Linked DNA regions of Homo sapiens: all the other regions are linked to region 1. Evidence: promoter capture Hi-C in 16 types of primary human blood cells and fetal thymus (Javierre and others, 2016). All regions are on one chromosome and are shown on one strand. The core of a region is centred on a gene start or on the middle of the fragment in contact, and the rest is flanking DNA. Distances in the headings are between cores, read along the strand shown. Region 1 holds the start of C1orf116 (chromosome 1 open reading frame 116). Region 2 overlaps LOC124904498 (a long non-coding RNA gene). Region 3 has its middle 25 kb from the start of CR2. Region 4 overlaps DYRK3 (dual specificity tyrosine phosphorylation regulated kinase 3). Region 5 has its middle 52 kb from the start of CD55.

Region 1 (3,136 bases), core at 485-2,984:
TCAGACCCAGGTCCCTCTCATCCTCCTCCCACGAACCCCCCACATGTCCTCCAAGAGCTTTGCCTCTCTGCCTACTAGTCAAAGAGGTTTCCTGTCTTTCAATCCAGGTGTCTTTGCTTCTTGTTGACTACCCAGAAATGTGCCTTGGGCTGGAAAATATCCTAAGAAAAATAGCAGAATGACTAAAACTTGCACAGTTTGCATATCTGTCTCCATGAACACATGGGCAAGTTTCTGTGTGTGTTTAGGCAACATTATCATCTTCCCTTTCACCAGTGTGTTTGAGGGAAGGAGCAGGTAGAAATACCCTCTGCATAGCAGAGCTTTGTTAGACACTGCCAGTGGTCTTTATTCCTAAATTCACCATCTAGGGCAGCCCTCAGTCTGTGAGTGTGGGGTGTTGGCTCTGTGGTGTGAGGTGAGCTCAAGCCTAAATCTCCAGTTGCCAGGACTGGAAAACCCATATATTCACTCAGGGCTGCGTGTGCCAGGCCCTTGAGCCTGGCACTGAGGGCTTCCCACTTCCCTCTTCTCTGCAGCAGGAGGAAAAGAGTCAAAGTTAGGGACCAAAGGGTTAAACCCCCCAAGATGGATAATGGAGAGGCAACTTGCTACTCTGACTCGACTCCTACATCTGCCTTCCTTCTGCAGGTAAATCTGCCACACAAACTGCCAACTGGGACACCTGCAGGAAAACAAACAAAGCCACCACCCTGGTCTGCTTCTCTGTCTGTGGACTCTGCCACACTACCTTGGCTTGAGCCCCACTTGGAACTCTAACTAGACTTGACATGCAGCCACGAAATATTCATGTGGGTGAGGCTCGGCACAGCCAGGTAGCTTTCTGTTTGCCAGTCTCTGTGTCTATTAACAGGCTGAGTCAGAAAGTTAATTGAGTAGAATCCAAATAAACTTGACTTTGCAGCTAGATTATCCATGGGTTTTCCAAAGATGAGCTGGTAGCTGAAGTTTTCTCCATGTGCCCCAACCTCATATCCCTTTACAAACAACCTAGTACAGCTCATGCCTAACACACCTGTACACAGAGAGCTCCATTATCACATGAGCATGATCAAACACACACACACATTGCACCCATTATTTAAATAAAGATCGACACCGAGTTGGTAAAGCCACGGGAGAATTTCCTGTTACAGTCGCTATGGAAAACCAAGATACTCTCCCCCATTTTGACTCCCTCTATTTCAACTGTTCTTTTCTAAAATCACAACTCAATTTCAATTGTTCAGAGATGGAAATTTCCAAAACAAATCTATTTTCTTTTTCTTGTTGTTTGCACAATATGCCTATCCAACCTAAAGGGATAAATGAAAAAGAAGGTGCCTCCCAGCCCCAGTCTCCACAAAAACACTACAATCTCAAGTTGCTACCAACCTGATCTGATCCCAGAATGGACTCAGAGAATTGAGGAACAGAGAGGAAATCTCCCTAGCTGGGGTATAGAGGGACACCTCCCCTCCCCTGTAGCTCTGATTTCCCATGAAACCCCTTCCTATTGCTATAGGATAAGCAATAGTTGGTTAGTGATTAACTCACCTCCACTGGGTTGGGGGCTGAAGAGAGAAAAGAAATACCCTTTTGTTTCAAAGGGCAGAGATGGAGACAGAGGCTGCTTCCCCTGCCTCCTACTGTTTTCTTCTCCTTTTGAGCTCCTCCTGACTTACCTAGATAGGTAAATGCTTCATCTGTGCTGCCTGGCCCCCACCCTGCCACTGACTCAGCCAATCCTAGCCTCCCCTCCCTACCTCTCATTCCAGCTGTTTCCTCAGGGAGGGAATGGGAGGGGAATGAGCAGGGTGGTGCTGTTCCCTCTTAGCCAATCATCTCCTACCCTCCCCTTTCCTGTTTAGAGCTAATAAAGAGCTCTTTAAAAAAGGAGGGCTGGAAGGAGGAGGAGCCGGTTTGGGCTGAGACTGGAAGGACAGGTGGCAGGGAGGGAGTAGGCAGAGATAGTATATATATTTAATGTTGATATAAAGGAACGCAGACAGTCCTCTGGGCAGTGTGCTTTTCCATAGGTCTATGTGAAACAGGTTTTTCATCTAGAACTACCTTCTTCCGCTTGGAGCTTAGTTTTCCCCTGAATTCTCTAGGCTAAACTCATTTGTGTTCAGTTTTGCTGCTAGCTTTTCTAGATGTTGAAAGTCACTTTCTTCCCCAAGCCTAATCCTAGCTCATAAGCCTAGCAATTCCATTCATGTCCACTGAAGAAGGTGTCCCCAGGCTAGGGATGCTGTAGTTGGGCCAGTCTCGCCCCAGTGCTTGCCAACAATCTCCTTGGCCTAATTTATTTCTGGGGGAAATAAAACCATTCATCCCCTAAGAGGTCCGTGTCCTGATGAAAGAGTGACTGGACAGCTTGAAAGGAGAGAGCATGCACTCTGTCATTTGGTCCTCTGCTCTCTTTTGGCTGTTCATGGAAGGTGGCAATACATATTATGAAATAAAAACAAAACAAACTACCAACCAGTTTAGCAACTCTTGTCTCCTTTCATGGACTGATACTTGGCATTCGTAGGGAGAAGAGAGTAGGTAGAAGAATCTACTATTTTTGGGAAGAAATTTCCCACCAGGTACAGAGACCACTCTTAACAGATATGATTTTTGCCTGGAAGCTGGTTTTTCCTACAGGTAGATTATCCTTGATAGGTATCAGGATTTGAGGTATTCCACTTACTAGCATTAAAAGGTCAGGGAGAAAATTTAAAATCAATGTACACAATAATTGCCAAAATGTATTAAGCTCTTGCTATTTGCTAGGTATTGTGCTGAGCATTTTCATGTATCTTTTAATTTAGTCTTTAACTTAAAAAAGTAGGCATTTGTTAATATCTAAATTTTACAGGGAGGTTAAAAATCTTTTTCAAGGCCATGTAGCTAGGAAGAGGCAGGGCAGAGATTTTAATTCAGGCAGTATAACATCAAGGTTGCTATGAATCAGCATAATGCCAATCCGCCTCTATTTTGGAAGGAATCTCAAGTGGGAATCATGAAATACACAGATAATTTGCAAGTGTAATTCTAGCTATTAGATTCGTCCTTTTCTGTTTCATTTCCTACTTAAAGCTATTAATATGTTTTATAACAAGACGACACATGGCTTTCATCTTTTCTC
Region 2 (3,137 bases), core at 240-2,739, 380 kb after region 1:
TAACAATTATCTTGAGGCAAAAAGGTAAAATTTTGTCTTAAGTTTCATTTTAAAGAAATTAAACTGGCCAGGTGCAGTGGCTCATGCCTGTAATCCCAGCACTTTGGGAGGCCGAGGCGGGCAGATCACCTGAGGTCGGGAGTTAAAGACCAGCCTGACCAACATGAAGAAACTCTGTCTCTACTAAAAATACAAAATTAGCTGGGAGTGGTGGCACACGCCTGTAATCCCAGCTACTCGGGAGGCTGAGGCAGGAGAATTGCTTGAACCTGGGTGGCGGAGGTTGCAGTGAGCCAAGATCGCACCATTGCACTCCAGCCTGGGCAACCAGAGTGAAACTCCGTCTCAAAAAAAAAAAAAAGAAAAAAGAAAAAAATTAATATCATTTCTTGTGTTCTTTTCAACAGATATTCATTCATAACTGTATTAGGCTGGGGTTCCATTAGGAGCCCTGGAGCGTACAAATTAAAATAGCATGCTCCATGCCAGTACTTTACAATCAAATAAGGATATAATAAATTGCTATACTAGCACTTGAAATTTACTTGGGAAACAAAGCATAACATAAATAATATATTCATGAAAAGTTAAAGACTAATGGGAGAAAGTACTTACAAACTATGCATCCAACAAAGTTCTAATATCCAGAATCTATAAGGAACTTAAACAGTTAAACAGGCAAAAAACAACCCCATTAAAATATGGACAAAGGACAAGAACAGATACTTCTCAAAAGAAGAAATACAAGGCCGGGTGCGGTGGCTCATGCCTGTAATCCCAGCACTTTGGGAGGCCAAGGCAGGCGGATCACGAGGTCAGGAGATCGAGACCATCCTGGCTAACACGTGAAACCCTGTCTCTACTAAAAATACAAAAAATTAGCCGGGCGTGGTGGCGGGCGCCTGTAGTCCCAGCTACTCGGGAGGCTGAGGCAGGAGAATGGCAGGAACCCGGCAGGCGGAGCTTGCAGTGAGCCGAGATCGCACCACTGCACTCCAGCCTGGGTGACAGAGCGAGACTCTGTCTCAAAAAAAAAAAAAAAAAAAAAAAAAAAAAGACATATAAGTGGCCAAGAAATGTATGAAACAATGCTCAACATCACTAATCAACAGAAAAATGAAAATCAAAACCATGATGAGATACCATCCCATACCTGTCAGAATGGCTATTATGAAAAACTCAAAAAACAACAGATGCTTGCAAGGCTGTGGAGAAAAGGGAAATCTTATACACTGTTGGTGGGAATGTAAATTGTTTCACCCACTGTGGAAAGCAGTTTGAAGAGTTCTCAAAAAACTTAAAACAGAACTACCATCTGACCCAGCAATCCCATTACTAGGTATATATCCAAAAGAAAATGCATAATCTGATCCTGCAACCCCATTACTTAGGTATATATATCCAAAAGAAAATAAATCATTCTACCAAAAGACATATGAACTTGTATATTTATCACCATGCTATTCACAATAGCGAAGACATGGAATCAACCTAAGTGTCCATCAATGGTGGATTGGATAAAGAAAATGTGGTGCATATACACCATGGAATACTACACAGCCATTAAAAAGAATGAAACCATGTTCTTTGCAACAACACAGATGCAGCTGGAAGCCATTATACTAAGCAAATTAATGCAGGAACAGAAAACCAAATACTGCATGTTCTCACATATAAGTGGGAGCTAAACATTGAGTACTCATGGACATAGACACTCGGGACATGGACATAGACACTCGGGACTAATAGAAGGGGGAAGGAGGCAAGGGTTGAAAAACTAACTGTTGAGTATTATGCTCACTATCTGGGTAATGGGATAATTCAAATCTAAGCATTCCATAATATACCCATGCAATAAAACTGCACATCCCTTGAATCTAAAATAAAAGTTAAAATTATTTGTAAAAAAGAAAAAAGAATGTAACCATTAACAATAAAAAAAGAAGTTAAAGACTATTGACACTTCCTGAAAATGTATGACTCGAGAAATACTATGTTGTACTTAACACTACATATAAGTACACATCAAGGCAACATCATGACAAGGCTGACTTTTGAAGCCATCTCATCCCACACAAAATAATTAGAAAAATGGATACAATGAATCCAAATTAATTTTTAAATGTATCACTGAAATATGTAGAATTATGTGTCAATTATAAATTTAAAAATTAATTTAAAAATACATAACTGAGATTGAAATTAAGAAAGAGAAATCCTGGGCCAGTTGTGATGGCTCACGCCTGTAATCCCAGCACTTTGGGAGGCTGAGGCAGGCAGAGTTCGAGACCAACCTGAGCAACTTTACAAAAAAATACAAAAAATTAGCAGGGCATGGTGGCACGTGCCTATAGTTTCAGTTACTTGGGAGGCTGAGGTAGGAGGATTGTTTGAGCCTGAGAGGTTAAGGCTGTGGTAAGCTGAGATCAGGCCACTGCACTCCATCCAGCCTGAGAGACAGGGTGAGACCCTGTCTCAAACACACACACACACACACACACACACACACACACACAGAGAGAGAAGGGGGGGAGAGAGAGAGATAGAGAGAGAGAGAGAGAAATCCTCGGGGAGAGGAAATAAATAGAATATTGAAAATCAATGTAGTGAGTAAGAGCTAAACCCAGTGACTTATGGAGGAGACAGAATGGGGTAAATCCCTAGGGGGAGGGCCATGATTTTAGCACATACCAGGGTTCTGGATTTGAGTCTAAAGTCCCATGCAACACTGGCACCTAGAAATGGGCTCTTTAATAAATCTGACAGCCAGTCCATAAAATGAAAATTAGAATACCCTTACCACTAAGACGATGAAGCAGCAAAGAAGCAAGTCAACTACTCTGTGCTATGGGAGAAAAAAAGACACAGGAAGCACATCTCTGAACCTTGCTAATGCTATTGTGTGAATTTACATTATCCTGTCTATGTGGAAAACCCCAACTGAGAAATTCTTATATAAATTGAAACTACTGGGCCCTTGGTAGAATGAAATGTGCCCCTTGTCACAAGAAACCTCCACAAACCAGTGCACTTGATGCCTGTGGAAAAAACTCCCACTGAAGATGAGTTCTTAGAAAAAATGTACAATCCTCAAGAGGAGACAAAGAACTAGGGAAGAGAGAGCTCTGGGATGCAAT
Region 3 (3,363 bases), core at 449-2,948, 400 kb after region 1:
CCAAGAACTTTGAGGATATTAAGGATGTTGGTCCATAGCTTAAAAACAATGGAAAGCCTTTAACAATTTTGAAAGCTTCAGGGATAGATAAAATTGTGTGTGCAAGGGGAGTGGGGGTGACTTTTTTGTGATTTCAATAACAAGGAGGAATTTATTCTATCAAATAGAACAAAATGAGATTTGCATTTTGAAGATATCACTCTCTGTGTGATGTCAAAAATGAATATGAATGGGAGGCACAAAAATTGAAGGGACATCAATTAAAAGAAAAGTGCATTATTTTAAGATAGAGATGGTAGCTTGGAATATGCTGGCAGAAGATATGGGAAGTATGGATAAAGAGGTATTTTGAACAAAAAATAGATGGATCTCAAAGATGGATTAGATATTGGAGAATGAAAAGCATGAGATATCATGGATGAACCTGAGATTTGTAAATTAGGTGACTGGATGCATGATGGTACTATTCAATGAGATTAGAAACATTGGCAGGAACCAATAACTTTGGAGGGAGTGTAAGAATTAAAGAAAGAGGAAAGATACATGAAAGGTGGCTTGACAGTTAAGGACGGGTTTATTTTAGAGAAAACAAACATGAGAGGGGCTTCTGGCTGAGTTAGGTTAGAGCCTACTTTCTTAGAGACTAAGAGTTTTTAAGGATTCAGGGTGGAAGAGTTTATCAGAGGCTTGTACTCCTTCTGTGTTTCTTTGTTGCACTTATCTGGGAGGGAGAGCTTTGTGTCTGTTCCCATACATCTTCCTGCAGCTGCAGGCATACCCACCCTCCTCCCAAGTCTGCTTTTAGCTTCCCTTAGTGCACTTAAATGGAAAGGAATGTGCTTATTAAGGCCCACTGTTTTACTGGGGCCCATTGTATGAGGGTGAAGTTTGGCAGTTACCCAAGAGACTTCCCCACCACCTCCCTCTGTGCCCCAGCTGTCTTATCTGTATTTTACTGTCTGCTCTTTCTGGGCACTTGTTGTTAGAAGAAAAGTGATTTCCTTGAAATGCATGAGGCTAGAAAAAGAGCTGGAACTTAAAGTGGCAGTGTTTGTCCAAGATGATGGTGCTCCTGCTCTGTCAGGGAGGACTGAGTTTGGTGTTTGACATATTGATACTGAAGTATCCACATGGAGAGGCAAAATAAGGTATACAGGGTCTTAGGCTTAGAAGACAGGTGTGAGCTCAATTTAGAATTTTTCAAGTCATAGACGTAATAGATACATTTGCCTGTGGAGATATAATAGAATGTGAAAAGAGCCCAGGATTCAGCCTCGAGAAACTCCAACATTTAATCACCAGACAGAGGAGGATAAACTGGAAAAAAAGATATATATGTATATAGAGAGGAAGAATGACCAGAGAGCTAAGCAGATAACCAGCAGATAATGATATCTGGGGAAGACAGCAGAACAAATTGTTTCAAGAAGAAAACAGTGGTTAATGTCAAATTCCACCAAGAACTGAAAAATGTTCATTGGCTTTGGCAATATGAAGGTGATCGTTAGTCATAATGAGAGAGACAGAGGCTAAATCAAAGTAGGTTGAACATTAGTAAAAGGTGTTGAAAAGGACAGGCCATCTGTAACTCTTTCAAGACATTAAGAAATTTGGCTGAGGCTGGGCACAGTTGCTCACACCTGTAATCCCAGCACTTTGGGAGGCTGAGGTGGGGAGATCACGAGGTCAGGAGATTGAGACCATCTTGGCCAACATGGTGAAACCCCATCTCTACTAAAATACAAAAAAATTAGCCGGGTGTGGTGGTGCGTGCCTGTAATCTCAGCTACTTGGGAGGCTGAGGCAGGGGAATCACTTGAATCCAGGAGGTGGAGGTTTCAGTGAACTGAGATCAAGCCACTGCACTCCAGCCTGGGTGACAGAGCAAGACTCCGTCTCAAAAAGTTAAAAAAGAAAAAGAAAGAAAGAAAGAAAGAAAGAAAGAAAGAAAGAAAGAAAGAAAGAAAGAAAGAAAGAAAGAGAGAAAGAAGGAAAGAAAGAAAGAAAAAGAAATTTAGCTCTGAAAGTGAGGAGAAAGGGTTAGAAGTTGGGGGAAGAAAGTCTTTTGAGATTTTTTTTAGCTCTTTTAAATGTCACGGGGAATGATCCAATGTTAGAACACAGTTGAAAATACAGGCAAGAGTGGAATTGTTTGATAGTTAAATGTTTCTGAAAAATCAGGAAAGAGTAGAATCCAAGACCTCATGTGAAAGAACTGACCTTCAATAAGAGAAGAGAGAAAATGGAAAAAAGAAAAGATGAATGCAGATGGAGGTTCCTAGAGTTGCTAGCAGGAAATTGGGAGACTAGATCTCCGACGGCTTCTCAGTGAAGAAGGAGGTGAGAAGACAGGCAGAAAAGGGTCAGTTATGGTTGGAAGGGTGAGGAGTATAAAGAAGATACAAAGTAATCATTGATAAAGTGAATTAAAAAGAGGAAAACAATGGTAAGGTTGCCACACAAGGTTGAGTCTATTTGAAATTAGTTATCCTGAATTTATCCACCAGTGCAACCTGCCATGTGGCTCTATCTCAGTGCTTAGGTAAGGAAAGCAGAAAGTAACAATGATTGAGGTTTGGGATTTTCTAAACAGTTGCCATAAGGAAGCAGGCAAAGGAGTTTGTTACTGGCAGGAGTGCTGTTGAACTTGTGGTATAGACTTTTGACTGATTAAGGAAGGAACTGAAGAAAGAGTGGGCAAATAGATTAGAATAAGGGGAAAGGCGACAGAAAGTTCTCATGAAGTCAAACGAAGGTCAAGCAGTTTGACACTGAAATAGGTAAGCTGAATGCAGTGGAGATTGTATGTAGACAGCAGGATGTCTGAATTAGAGATTTTGGAAGTGGTGCCATATTAGGACATGACAAAGTCTAGGGTGTTACCAAGGGGGTATTTTGTTGGAAGTATCTGCTTGAAATCATGTTAAATTTAAACCTCACTCTCCAAAGTCAGTATAATTACACTTATAATTTTTAATCCTGGCATTGGCGTTTATACTGTCAAAAATAAATAAATCCAATAGGGATAAGTTTGCATATTCTGTCTCTAAATCCATTCCCACAAATTGCATTTACATGTCTTCAACTGATAGCAACTGTAACAATTTATATTTAGGCTTGCAGACTTCCTCTTGATGACATTCAAATTTTTTACCCATTTATCAGAATTTCCTAAAACTGTGGTTCACAACCTTCGTTGGTTATCAGAATCACCTGGGGAACTTTTAAATTCATAAATTCTCAGCCTGTTCTGATTCAGTGAACAGTGAACCTGATTCAGTAGTTCCCAGGTGGGGCATGAGAATCTGTACATTTAAAAAAAAAGCTTCCCAGGTGATTCTGACAATTGGTCAGGGATGACAA
Region 4 (3,298 bases), core at 369-2,868, 380 kb before region 1:
AGACCATCTAGCTTATCGATATGAGGTGCTGAAAATTATTGGCAAGGGGAGTTTTGGGCAGGTGGCCAGGGTCTATGATCACAAACTTCGACAGTACGTGGCCCTAAAAATGGTGCGCAATGAGAAGCGCTTTCATCGTCAAGCAGCTGAGGAGATCCGGATTTTGGAGCATCTTAAGAAACAGGATAAAACTGGTAGTATGAACGTTATCCACATGCTGGAAAGTTTCACATTCCGGAACCATGTTTGCATGGCCTTTGAATTGCTGAGCATAGACCTTTATGAGCTGATTAAAAAAAATAAGTTTCAGGGTTTTAGCGTCCAGTTGGTACGCAAGTTTGCCCAGTCCATCTTGCAATCTTTGGATGCCCTCCACAAAAATAAGATTATTCACTGCGATCTGAAGCCAGAAAACATTCTCCTGAAACACCACGGGCGCAGTTCAACCAAGGTCATTGACTTTGGGTCCAGCTGTTTCGAGTACCAGAAGCTCTACACATATATCCAGTCTCGGTTCTACAGAGCTCCAGAAATCATCTTAGGAAGCCGCTACAGCACACCAATTGACATATGGAGTTTTGGCTGCATCCTTGCAGAACTTTTAACAGGACAGCCTCTCTTCCCTGGAGAGGATGAAGGAGACCAGTTGGCCTGCATGATGGAGCTTCTAGGGATGCCACCACCAAAACTTCTGGAGCAATCCAAACGTGCCAAGTACTTTATTAATTCCAAGGGCATACCCCGCTACTGCTCTGTGACTACCCAGGCAGATGGGAGGGTTGTGCTTGTGGGGGGTCGCTCACGTAGGGGTAAAAAGCGGGGTCCCCCAGGCAGCAAAGACTGGGGGACAGCACTGAAAGGGTGTGATGACTACTTGTTTATAGAGTTCTTGAAAAGGTGTCTTCACTGGGACCCCTCTGCCCGCTTGACCCCAGCTCAAGCATTAAGACACCCTTGGATTAGCAAGTCTGTCCCCAGACCTCTCACCACCATAGACAAGGTGTCAGGGAAACGGGTAGTTAATCCTGCAAGTGCTTTCCAGGGATTGGGTTCTAAGCTGCCTCCAGTTGTTGGAATAGCCAATAAGCTTAAAGCTAACTTAATGTCAGAAACCAATGGTAGTATACCCCTATGCAGTGTATTGCCAAAACTGATTAGCTAGTGGACAGAGATATGCCCAGAGATGCATATGTGTATATTTTTATGATCTTACAAACCTGCAAATGGAAAAAATGCAAGCCCATTGGTGGATGTTTTTGTTAGAGTAGACTTTTTTTAAACAAGACAAAACATTTTTATATGATTATAAAAGAATTCTTCAAGGGCTAATTACCTAACCAGCTTGTATTGGCCATCTGGAATATGCATTAAATGACTTTTTATAGGTCAATGCATCTTTGTTATTATCGTCAGATGTATTTCAACTGATGTATTATACTATTGGTTTAAATCTCTTTCTCTCAAGATAGAAGGTGTAGCAAAAGTATCCCAACTACTCCTCGCTTCTAGTGTCCCTCGGCATCTGTTCTGGAGGGGTAATTTGGGATGTGGTGTTAGTTGTGGCTGAGAGCCAGTGCTAGGTCCCTTGCCCCACTAGGCCATTCTCTAGGCTCATTCTAGGTGAAAGAGCTCACAGCAGACTGTGGGGTGGGGGAGCACCAGGAAGCTGTTGGTGACCTGGACAACTGGTGTCCCTGGTTTTCAGTGACTCGCTCCTCTTCCCTTCAGTTCTCTGATGTTTGGTGTTATTATTTTATGTTGTTATTTTGCCTCTGATTTGTTTCCTAGTCACTCAAAGCATTTTACAGAAGCCTTACCACTTTACTAAATAACCCTGTAAGGTACTGATTTAAAAACTGAGTCATATGCATCCCTCCTCCTTTCCTCTCCCATGCCCAAGGAAGATAAAACAGCTTCTCTGCCACAATTGACCCAGAGTGGTAAAGATAGAGAATCAGCATGAAAACTGCAGTTCCCCAGCTTTGTGGTACTCCACGGACCAGCCTCCTTGCTGCATTTTCATAGAATCTCTTCCTTATAAAAGTAATCACTCTCGGATAAACCTTACTACAGTTTAAAAATGCTTCCCTCTTCTCTTTACAGCTACCTGCCACTTCAATGTGCCACATTTTTCCCCCCACTTTCACGTTAAGCTTAATGCTATTCCCTAGATCTGAGTGAACTTCAGTTAGAAGAAGAAAACTAAAAATCCAGAAACTGGTGATAATCAAGTTTTCCCTTTTTATGTTTCTTAATTTTATTCTCTTCAACAGCTTTTCTTTTTCTCTGCTAAGATTTAAACAGTGAGGGCTGATAATAAAACTAATTGTTAAGCCAGTGTCCTACTTACAAGGGTGGAGACGGGACAGAAGCTAACTCACTGCTACTGGGTTTTGTTTGTTGTTTCCTGTCCCTTGCTCTATTTCTGTCCTCTTCCAGAACAAAAGTATGCTCAAGTTCTATCCTAAATGTGTGCTCTTGGCTGGGTATTAGTGGCTCATGCCTGTAATCCCAGCACTTTGGGAGGCTGAGGTGGGTGGATTCCTTGAGCCCAGGAGTTCAAGACCAGCCTGGGCAACATGGTGAAACCCTGCCTCTACAAAAAATACAAAAATTAGCCAGGCCTAGTGGCACATGCCTGTAATCCCAGCTACTTGGGAGGCTGAGGTGGGAGGATCACTTGAGCTGAGATCATGCCACTGCACTCCAGCCTAGGCAACAGAGTGAGACTCTGTCTAAAAAACAAACCAAAAAAAGTGTGTTCTTTAAAGTAGAATATTTGCTTTTTACAATATAGTTCTCAGAATGATCCAGTTCCATTTATTATTCTAGAATGTGGTGCAAACTCAATGACATTGGAAGAGACTCTTTTTGTTGGGCAGTGTAGGAACAAGAAAAGAAAATAAAAATGCCATGAGTATATTATTTAAGGAACTTTTGTTTTATCCAAAAGTAGTCATGATTGCTGTAGCATAGGCTGTGAAAAATGAGAGAGTGCAAATCTCTCTCATTTAAATGTCCACAGTGGCTTTAGTCTCCCAAGTACAAGGGCCAGATGGCAGAGAACAGCTTAAACTGAGCCTTCAGCCTCATTAATAGGAGGAAGTCTTGGTACTTTTGGTGACTAAGAAACTGGATTATTTAAAACCTTAATTATCTCCTTTACTCCTGGTTTACAGAAGGCAATAAATATACAACTCCTTTAGATCCCTCTAACTCCTGCTGAATTTTCTTTCTTTTTTTCTAAGTCTGCATCCTATCTCTTGATTCCATTGCCTGAAGAAGCTGTGTGAAATTA
Region 5 (3,077 bases), core at 275-2,774, 340 kb after region 1:
AATTCCACTTAGAGTCAGTTCCTTTCCAAAGTTGATTTTGTTGGCTCTCTCTCATGGCATTGCATTTCTTCACATTTTACAGTTGTGATTTGCAAGTTTTTTAAGTAGACTTTTTAGTTTGTTTCATTCTTTGGTAGATTGTATTAATGTTTCTAATTCTTTACTCCTTCCCTTTTACAGAATTATAACTGGACATCTTTTGCCAGGTGACTTTTCAGTGCCTTCCACTATAGTAGATGGAATATACTTCCCCACTCCATTGAGTCCATTTTTTGTTGGCTAACCTGTAGTTTTAAGATTGTAATTTTTTTAAATCTAGTTACCTTGATTGCTTTTTAGAGAGCTATTAGTCCCAATAACTTAGACCACCATTATTTAAAAATGGAATTCCTAACCACAATGTGTGCACCTCATCATAGGAAGGAACACAAATGGGGGAGTAGAAGAAAACAGAAATGTATTAATAGGCGACAGTGAGTACTTCAGCTTTATGTGTAATGTTTTATTTCTTGTATTACAAAGTAAAAGATATGAAGCATTTGACTAAAAATGTTAATTTATATAATTTGAATGATGGGTACATGGGCAGTTGTTATATTTATATATACTTTTATGTATTCTAAATTTTTTTCTCAAAATAAAAAAGAGAAACAGTCAAGGGTTAGTATTGTGTCATCAAACTCATTACAGACCTCAATTCATTTTGTTTTATTTATTTCTGAACAACATAATTTGAGGAAGTAAAGCATACTTTAAGGAAATCTGTAGAAGGGCAAAGTAAAAGCATTTGAAAAAGTCTCATCACCTGAAAAAGGCAGAGAAAAAAAGAACAAAAGGAAGAAGTGTTCTAGAGGTCTCATCTAGTTTGTATAGGGAAGAAAGTTGAGGTAATACAGCTGTGTGGGAAAAGGGATAGATTCATATATACTTGTTCTTGAGAGCAGACATGTTGTTAACAATGAATGAAATGGAAACACACAACTAATCTTTGAAAGAATGAGATGAACCTGAAAAAAAAAACAACAAAAATAAGAAAAAAAGGAAATAATGATTTAAAATAGATAATGAAGAAACTAAGATACAGACATTAAATAAAATGTAAATGGATTGTTTTCTTTCACTAAAGCTTAAAGATTAGAAAACAAAAGCTGTGTATGAGGGACATGGTGAAATAGTAAAGAAGGGTGGAAAATAAAAGATAAGCAAAGATAAAATGTAAGGTCAGACCAATTATAAAAGGCAAAGATTTATGAAAAAGGTAACATTCATAAATATGTATATATCAAACTACATGCAACTAGCTAAATACATAAAGCAAAGTCATTAGGAATTTGATAAGCCTAATAAAATATAATTATGACTGAAGATTTCAATACATCTCTACCAAAATCAAACAGATTTTGTAGAGAGAAAGAAACCCAGGACAGGGAAAAACAACCTTATATTATCTAGAGACAATATGTTGGCTTTCCTCTACACTAAGACATTTTGATACTGGTGCTTTCTTGATTTCTTGATCTTACCAGAACATGTCAAGTGAAGGTTTTACACAACTACAATGCCACTCCTATGGGCTGACAGCTGTAAAGAGATGCATCCCAATTCTAGAGATGTTAACACGTGAGAAAAATGTTTCTTAGAATCAAAGATATGAGGGGTTTTTCCATACATCAATGAAACATTTGCTCAAAAACGTCATATACTTGGCCATAAAGTATATTCACTTTTTTAAAAGGCCGTGTTGATAAATATGAAAAAGAGAGAAGGTGATCAACAAAATCTTAACCACTTGAAAATTAAGATGCTCCTAGATCACCCTTATATCAAAGATAAAATTTAAAAAATTAAAAACTATTTAGGAAAGAGTGAAAAGAAGAACACACTAAATTATTTGGAACACAGAGAACTTTTCAGTGGAACTTGCAAGCTTTAAATGCCTTCGTTATTAAGGAAAACATTAAAAATAAAGGAATTTGAACTCATCTGTGGAAACTAAAGAGCAACAAACTAAATAAAAAGTTTTAACATATTAGTCAAGATACATATATAAACATAGAATATCAAATAAAACCTGACACCTCAATCTAAGGTCTGTAAAAAACTTTAAAACAAAGATTGGAATCGTAAGAGTTAAAGAAATATAGACATTTTTGACAATGCAAAAAATGTAAATAATGGTTAGAAAAAGTGGAAATAAATTGCTAAAACACAAAAGAGAGATTAATGGTTTGTGTCTATAATAGACAAAAAGCTCTTACATTGATAGGTAAATGACATAAAACCCAATACAACGTGGACAGGTATACTGATAGGAAATTTTTAGCAAGGTAAATCAGATTGATCAAGAACATATGAAAAGATGTTGACATTCACTAGGAGTCAGAGTAAAGAAAATCAAAATAATTTTCCGAGGTGTGAAGTATTAGAATGAACACAGAATGATGGCATTTCAGGGCTAAGGCTGGAAATGGCCCCTCTAAGTTGCCATGGGAACTGAGTAAACCTGGTCTTAACCATGTATTGGAGAAGGAATCTATCCACAAACCAAGGAGGAGTGTGGGTGCGGGTTGGGACCGGGCTGACCAAAGGCCGCCGGAGAGGAGGAGGCCTGGGGATCACAAAATGCTTGAGGATGGCACTGCGTCCTGGGTCTGTACAGTATGGTTTGCAATAAAACTCAAAATCTTCCAGCCGAGATAAGAAAAAAAATAATTACAAATTACATGAATACCTACCTAGACAATCCAATTAAACTCTAACAAAATATGTTGGATTTAACAATGGACCTAATATTAGGTAAATAGTGACAATAATAAATTGGATATGACAATGCAAAAATAATCCTGTTTATGAGTGATAATCATCTTAAAATATCGAAGAATGTAGGTACCCAGGAAGATTCTTCAAATATGTGAAGGAACTATTCACATTTCTTTAAAAATTGTAAGAACAGCTCTGAAAATTTAAGGTAAGTCATTTCCTTGTTGAAAAATGTGAAAATAACTAGTCATCACAAATTTAAAAATAAAATCAATGCAATTCCAAACAAATTCCAATGAAGTTTTTGTTGAAGTGAG

Evidence for each region. The method cuts DNA at HindIII sites, captures the fragments that hold promoters and counts their contacts. A CHiCAGO score of 5 or more calls a contact.
Region 2: a contact is called between a fragment that was not itself captured here and the fragment with the promoter of C1orf116 in region 1, in 6 of 17 cell types (naive CD4 T cells, naive CD8 T cells, total CD4 T cells and 3 more). The highest score is 8.4, in naive CD4 T cells.
Region 3: a contact is called between a fragment that was not itself captured here and the fragment with the promoter of C1orf116 in region 1, in 4 of 17 cell types (neutrophils, monocytes, naive CD8 T cells and 1 more). The highest score is 7.5, in neutrophils.
Region 4: a fragment that was not itself captured here is called in contact with the fragment with the promoter of C1orf116 in region 1 in 3 of 17 cell types (non-activated CD4 T cells, naive B cells and total B cells); the score reaches 5.7 in non-activated CD4 T cells.
Region 5: a fragment that was not itself captured here is called in contact with the fragment with the promoter of C1orf116 in region 1 in 1 of 17 cell types (monocytes); the score reaches 5.3 in monocytes.

Annotation. Positions count from the first base shown.
Region 1 is chr1:207,031,022-207,034,157 of GRCh38, forward strand. C1orf116 (chromosome 1 open reading frame 116) reads right to left here and starts at 1,735. Exons shown (of 4, transcript NM_023938.6): 1 at 1,558-1,735. The HindIII fragment of the contact is 5,727 bases long and covers 1-3,136 here.
Region 2 is chr1:207,409,435-207,412,571 of GRCh38, forward strand. All of the region lies in intron 1 of LOC124904498 (a long non-coding RNA gene), which reads right to left. Among named protein-coding and RNA genes, the nearest start is that of CR2, 43 kb to the right of the region's middle. The HindIII fragment of the contact is 5,588 bases long and covers 1-3,137 here.
Region 3 is chr1:207,427,482-207,430,844 of GRCh38, forward strand. No RefSeq gene overlaps it. Among named protein-coding and RNA genes, the nearest start is that of CR2, 25 kb to the right of the region's middle. The HindIII fragment of the contact is 3,250 bases long and covers 74-3,323 here.
Region 4 is chr1:206,647,804-206,651,101 of GRCh38, forward strand. DYRK3 (dual specificity tyrosine phosphorylation regulated kinase 3) reads left to right here. Exons shown (of 3, transcript NM_003582.4): 3 at 1-3,298. The coding sequence ends at 1,162. Among named protein-coding and RNA genes, the nearest start is that of DYRK3-AS1, 14 kb to the left of the region's middle. The HindIII fragment of the contact is 1,066 bases long and covers 1,086-2,151 here.
Region 5 is chr1:207,372,589-207,375,665 of GRCh38, forward strand. No RefSeq gene overlaps it. Among named protein-coding and RNA genes, the nearest start is that of CD55, 52 kb to the left of the region's middle. The HindIII fragment of the contact is 801 bases long and covers 1,125-1,925 here.